Linked DNA regions of Homo sapiens: region 1 is linked to region 2. Evidence: promoter capture Hi-C in 16 types of primary human blood cells and fetal thymus (Javierre and others, 2016). All regions are on one chromosome and are shown on one strand. Each heading gives the region's core, a stretch centred on a gene start or on the middle of the fragment in contact. The rest is flanking DNA. Distances are from core to core; before and after follow the strand shown. Region 1 has its middle 140 kb from the start of RPS6KA2. Region 2 holds the start of MPC1 (mitochondrial pyruvate carrier 1).

Region 1 (3,316 bases), core at 758-3,257, 380 kb before region 2:
AGTTAAACAAAGTCGTTTTCTTGTTATTACTGCAGGATTTATTGAGCCTCTATGTCTTGGAGCACACTGCGCCCGTCCCTGAGCTGCGGATGCAATAAGGAACCTATGTCACCCCACACTAAGCGGGCAGCAGGGATCTTGGAGGTGGGAGCAGGTGCGGGGGCCATGGCTAAGGAGGGCTGGCTGTGCTCGTGGCCGTGGGTCGTCACCACGCGTCCCGGAGCATCCTCTACTTGAGGGCCGGTGTGCTGGACGCACCTGCTGACCTGCAGCCCTGGAAACATCTGGGAGCTTCTCATGGCACTTGGCTTTGTGGAGTCCAGCGTCAGGAGCACTGTTTATGAGTCCAGAGATGCTGCACACACTACCCATGCTGGCTGGCCACGTGGAGGCTCACTCCAGGACTGTGGCTCTCTTCATGTGGCCTAACTTCTGGGTCCTTTCCTTGTTCAGCGTGGTGGCTGTTCCTCCTGCCACCTGCCCTGGAGCTGGCAGGGAGGAGAAAGCCCCAGGCTGGAGCTGAGAGACCCAGGCGGGGTCACCCCATTGGCCGTTTGGTGTTGGGAAGGTCATGCCACCTCCGTGGACATATGATGAGAGGACAGAACTCGGTAGAGATAACGTCAAGGCTGCCAAAGTGCTTTGTCGTTCCTGCATATGTGTGTTGATACACATGTGTGTGAACACACACACGTTGTGTAGTGTGTAAATGTGTGAAATACGTAACATGTGACTGTAGCACGTGTTTACGCAGGTGCTTGCGTGGCTGTAGGTGTCACCGCGGTGGCCGCTGTCCCAGTCCCTGTGGCGCGTCTTCCTCCCGTTGTCAGGGGTTGCGGGCTCATGGCTGCAGGCTCCTTGTGGTTTGTTTTTCACAGAGTGAGGGCACCCGGCTGTGCCTGGGGAAGTGCAGCCACACTCAATGTGGTCAGTGACAGGGACCCTGACCCCTTCCCAACCCCCTGCTCCTTGCCCCACTCTGCTTCCCCATCTAGGCCTGCGGCATGGCCTCCTCCAGCAACCACCCCTGCCCGCCTTCTCACTGTGGCTGGATTTCACTCCTTCAGCTTCATTGAGCTGCCTTGTGAGGAGGGAAGCGCGGGCCCCGTGTTGTTAGACCTGATCCCCGCGTTCCAGCACCTCCTCAGAGCTTGCCGTTCTCGACACCTTCCTTTAGGAAGCACCCTGCTCCTCGGCCACCCTGGGCAGAGCCTCCCACTCTTCCTCCCGCCTCACAGTCTTCCTTTTCACGCGCCCCCTGGTGTCCTTCCCTCTGCCCATCACTAAAATGTCGCTGGCCTTAAATGACCCTGACCACACTGTGCCGGGCGATCCCAGGGGTCTTCCCAGCTCTGAGCTGGGGCTCAGCCTCATTTCTCTCACCCTCTCACTCACGCCCTCCCCAGTGGGAGTGGAGTCCCAGCACCGCGTGGTCCTCAGAGCCGGCAGCGATGCAAGGCACAGGGCACTCAGAAGCCCCGCACATGGCAATTCCTCACGCTCACAACTCCCCAAACACTTCGCATTCTTTCTAGCCGAACAACAAGAACCCTAACAGAAGCTGCTTTACAGCAGGTCATGGACAGTGTTGTGTCTGCCACACAATTCAGCATTTGGTGACGGACATAGACAAGGCCGGCCGTGCCGTCATGGATCTGAAAACAATCTTTAAAGGACTGCTGGGTGCACCCCTCTTTCTCGAGGTACACGGACAGGCACAGCTCTGGTTTTGCTGGGATCGTTTGCAGTTGGTTATTATCATGGGGCCCTTGGGACTTGATCTGTAACAGCGAACTAACAAGGTCGTCGCCGTTCATCCGTGTGGTGCCTCACTACTTACGAAACGCCTTTTCTCAATGCTCTTATCTGTACAGGGAGGAGGTAAAGAAATTGACAGCTCTTTCTTAATTAACTTTTGGTTTCCAAGGTTGTTCCCCCAAGGAAATCCAAGGTTCCCTTCCTTGCTCCTGTTTTTGCTTTGCTTTTCTTTGGTAAATCGTTATAGAATACTCAGTATGTTCTAAGCACCTTGCAATGTGAACTCATTTGACCCTCAACAACCAGATGAAGTAGTCACTCTCATTGCCGCTCTCTCCCATTTTACAGATAAGAGCATGGAGGCAATTAAGTTGTACCAGGTGACACAGCCAAGTAGGGGAGTCATGGATTTGAACCGAGCCATGTGGCTTTAGGGTCTTAACTGTGATTCTATGATGCAGACATTTGCTGAAATCAAAGATAATTTACTCTTGCAGTTTATTTTGTGGAAATAATATTTTTCCATTTTCTTAATGTAACCCTTTAATGACTCCAAAAGAATTTAAAATTATTCTTGGCTTTGCTTTTTCCATGCTAAGCGAATGCCATCTAACAGGCTTCAGCTAAGTCTGGAAACCAAACCTGTAAGGCAGGAAATGTGGTTCCTTCTGTGATCCTGATACTACTGCTAGGACTTCTCAGTTACTGGGTCCCAAATATTTTTAGCTTAAGACTCTGTTGGAAATGTAATAACAATAAATCACAGACCCCACCTTGTAGTAGCTATATTTTTGCTATCCACGCATTGAGGAGAGCTGCTGAAACCATCAATGCCTTCCAAAGGAAACTGAACTTTATTCATGCTTGCAGCTGTTATCACAGAAGCATGTGAAACCGTTTCTTTGACCTACGGAGAGTCACCTATGTACCTGTGTTTCCACCTGTGCTCTGCAGTAGCCTCGGTGCCCACAGGCCTCAAATCTCGTGGTGCAAGGCTCAGGGTCATGGCTTGCTCCGCTTTCCTTGTTGGCTCCCAGAAGTCGGGGCAGAAGTGAAGGTCGTTTCCTGGGAGTGGACAGGATGGGAAGGTGCTATTCTTTCTCCGTGGAGCTGTTGATTTATTTACCTGTGAACTGGGAGCAAACAGGACTTTCATGTGAGGCTGAGTCTCTCAGGGACCGTGGTGCACAGCAGGTTGTAACCCTGGTGCCGGCTTACAGCCCAGTGCGAGATCCTGTGTGATTCGAGATCAGCTGCGTAAGGGAAAATGAGGCCAGTTTCCCAAGATACTTTCACTTAAGAACATGACTTTACACACTCCATGTGCCAGGGACTACGCCAGGTGCCGTGGGGGAATTTGAACTTCATATTCCGTCCTCCGTTTAACATGCACACACACACACATATGCGCATAGACATACAAACACACACACGCACACTGCATGAACACACACATGCATACCAATTGCTTTGAACGGTGCTAAGGTTGAGCTGACATGGCTGAGCGGTAAAGAGAGGCCATGATTCGGTTTTGCGTCTGAGGGAGAATGTGGTAAAA
Region 2 (2,942 bases), core at 243-2,742:
CACGCCTCAGCCTCCCGAGTAGCTGGGATCACAGGAGCGCATCACCACGCCTGGCTAATTTTTGTATTTTCAGTAGAGATGAGGTTTCACTATATTGGCCAGGCTGGTCTCAAACTCTTGACTTCAAGTGATCCACCTGCCTCAGCCTCCCAAAGTGCTGAGATTACAGGCGTGAGCCACCGCACCCGGCTACCAGAGGAATTTTGTTATATTTATTTGTTTTTTTTGGAGACAGGGTCTTGCTCTGTTGCCCAGGCTGGAATGCAATGGCGCAATCTTGGCTCATTGCAACTTCCGCCTCCCGGGTTCAAGCGATTCTTCTGTCTCAGCCTCCCAAGTAGCTGGGACTACAAGCACATGCCACCACGCCCAGCTAATTTTTTTATTTTTAGTAGAGAGGGGGTTTAACCGTATTGCCCAGGCTGGTCTCGAATTCCTGACCTCAGGTGATCCGCCCGCCTCGGCCTCCCAAAGTGCTGTGATTACAGGCGTCAGTCACCGCGCCCGGCCACCAGAGGCATTTTAAATGATCGTCCACATTAGAAACAAAACGAAACGAAACAACTTGGAAAAGTGAGCAAAAGCCTTCAATGTGTTCTTTTCTCTGCCTTTGTGATCCGAAAGTCGTGCTGCGGTTTATATACTCCTAGGCGAGGGTCGCGTGCTAATGATCCCTTTCTTTTCAATATGCACCCGCGGTGGGACTTACAGAACCTTTATTTTCAACACGTAAGCAGTCACGCTTCCTCGAGCCTAAGGCTTTGTGCTATTCTTAAATGCTTTCCTCCTCCGACGCTGCGGCTCCCTCCTGAGCCCGTAGCTGCAGCGCGTTGGTGAGGAGCGCCGGCCCTGGGTGCCGCCCGCCACCCTGGAGGGACCGGTCCGGGGGAAAGTGCTCGGGAGAAGCCAGGGGCCCCGGCTGCGGTCGCTGGCCCGGGGCTCTGCGCACTCCCCAGTGCCCGGAAACCGCAGGCTGGCCCAGCTTGCGGGCCGGGTCCGCCCACGTGGGTGTGGGAAGCGCAGGGGACGCGGGCCGCCCGGCCAAGGTGCCCTTGCCAGGAACCGGCGCAGACACAGGCCCTGGGCGGCGCGGGAACCCGGCCAGTCCCACCGCGCGCTGCGCCGCAGGGGCCCCACTGCAGGTCGCCCCAAGACCGCGCGACGCTCGGCAGGGCGCCCACAGTCCTGTGGGTCAGAGAAATGTCACCTCCACGTCCCCGCTGGCCGGGAGCCGCTGGAGCCTAGCAACCGCCTGCCAGCCCCGGCCCAGCCCCAGCCGTTTTACGGCAGCGGGCCCCGCCCCCGTGCGCCACCGAGGGCGGGAAGGAGGCGTGCGGCACGAGCCAGCCAGTCCGCGCCACCATCTCTGGCCCTGCGCCCTGTCATTGGCCGAGAGCCGGGCGGCGCGGCGCGGCCGTAAGGCGTGGCCGGGTGTCGTGAGGCGGGCCTTCGGGCTGGCTCGCCGTCGGCTGCCGGGGGGTTGGCCGGGGTGTCATTGGCTCTGGGAAGCGGCAGCAGAGGCAGGGACCACTCGGGGTCTGGTGTCGGCACAGCCATGGCGGGCGCGTTGGTGCGGAAAGCGGCGGACTATGTCCGAAGCAAGGATTTCCGGGACTACCTCATGAGGTGACGAGCGCCGCAGGCCGAACCCCGCAACCCGGAGGGGCTCCCGGGAGGCTGCGACCCGTGCAGTCCGCGACGAGGGCGGCCGCGAGGACGCGGTGGCCCCGGGCAGCGGGTGGGCCGGGGCCCAGGCGAGAGGGTGCGCTTGTCAGGGGGGCCCCACCCGGATCCCTCCCGGACCGCCACACCCCGAAGCGGACGGCGTAGAGAGCCGGTGACAGTGGGCGCCTTTCAGGGCGGGGGTGACAGTGGGCGCCCCTCAGGGCGGGGGTGACAGTGGGTGTCCTCTCCCGGCAGGGTGACAGTGGGCGCTCCTCAGGGCGGGGGTGACAGTGGGTGTCCTCTCCCGGCAGGGTGACAGTGGGCGCCCCTCAAGGCAGGGGTGACATTGAGTCCCCTTCAGGGAGTGGGTGACGGTGGGCGTCCCTCCTGGCCAAGGTGACACTGGGGACGCCTCTCCTGGTAGGCATAACAGTGGACGCCCTTCCCGGCCAGAGTGGCAGTGGGGACCTGGAGGGACGAAAGCGACGGCGCTCCTCAGGACAGGGTGACCATGGGGACGCCTCTCCCGGCAGGGGTGACAGTGGGCGCCCCTCAGGGCAGGGTGACCCGGCAGGGGTGACAGAGGCTCGTTCCTCTCCCATGGTTGGCAGTGGGCACGTCCCTCCGGGCCAGTTGACAGTGGCTCGCTCCTCCGGGCGGGAGTGGTTTCCTGGCCGGTTTCTACCAGATCCTCGGAGTGGGTCGCCGGTCACCTGCGGCCGTCCAGGTGTGCCAGAGGCGGCGACCTGGGTGTGGGGTGGGGAGACGCCAGCGGGAGGCGCTGCTGAGAGCGCGGCGCGGCGCTGTTGGAGCGGAGCTTCGGGTGCGCCCAGCGCGCTTCTGGGACAGCGGAAATAAAATGTGCTGGCCTTGGGTTCGCCTTTCGGTTTTCTCATTCTAAGGACTTTAAGCTTGGGAGGAAGTACAATTTAAGATGTTTTTATATACGAAATTCTGTCAACCAAAGTAAAGTGACGTGTCTCTAAGGTCATACTTTTTCTTCTTGTTCTATTTTCTGTTAACTCCTCCTTTCCAGTTAGAAACAAAGAGCATTCGCGGTTGGAAAGCCTGAAAATACACTTTCTATAATTTATTTGCACCTCTCATCTTGGGGCGCTTGCTTTTATTTCAAAATATTGAATATAACTTTGAAGCAGTTTTAGGTTATTTAGGAGTGTAATTTTAGTTAGTTTTTCAGTGTATGATTTTAAAACCTAGGTACGTGTACAGCTGCGGTTTTTTTTCGGTAGTTAATAGTGTGGTCAAGAGGTAAAGAG

What was found. The method cuts DNA at HindIII sites, captures the fragments that hold promoters and counts their contacts. A CHiCAGO score of 5 or more calls a contact.
Region 1: a fragment that was not itself captured here is called in contact with the fragment with the promoter of MPC1 in region 2 in 1 of 17 cell types (fetal thymus); the score reaches 6.1 in fetal thymus.

What each region holds. Positions count from the first base shown.
Region 1 is chr6:166,762,239-166,765,554 of GRCh38, reverse strand. It overlaps a transcript of RPS6KA2 not described here. Among named protein-coding and RNA genes, the nearest start is that of RPS6KA2, 140 kb to the right of the region's middle. The HindIII fragment of the contact is 5,905 bases long and covers 1-3,316 here.
Region 2 is chr6:166,381,490-166,384,431 of GRCh38, reverse strand. It overlaps MPC1 (mitochondrial pyruvate carrier 1), which reads left to right and starts at 1,492. Exons shown (of 5, transcript NM_016098.4): 1 at 1,492-1,626. The coding sequence starts at 1,556. It overlaps MPC1-DT (MPC1 divergent transcript), which reads right to left and starts at 1,254. Exons shown (of 1, transcript NR_189630.1): 1 at 1-1,254. RefSeq lists silencers at 820-1,559, 1,710-1,809 and an enhancer at 2,170-2,349. The HindIII fragment of the contact is 5,196 bases long and covers 1-2,578 here.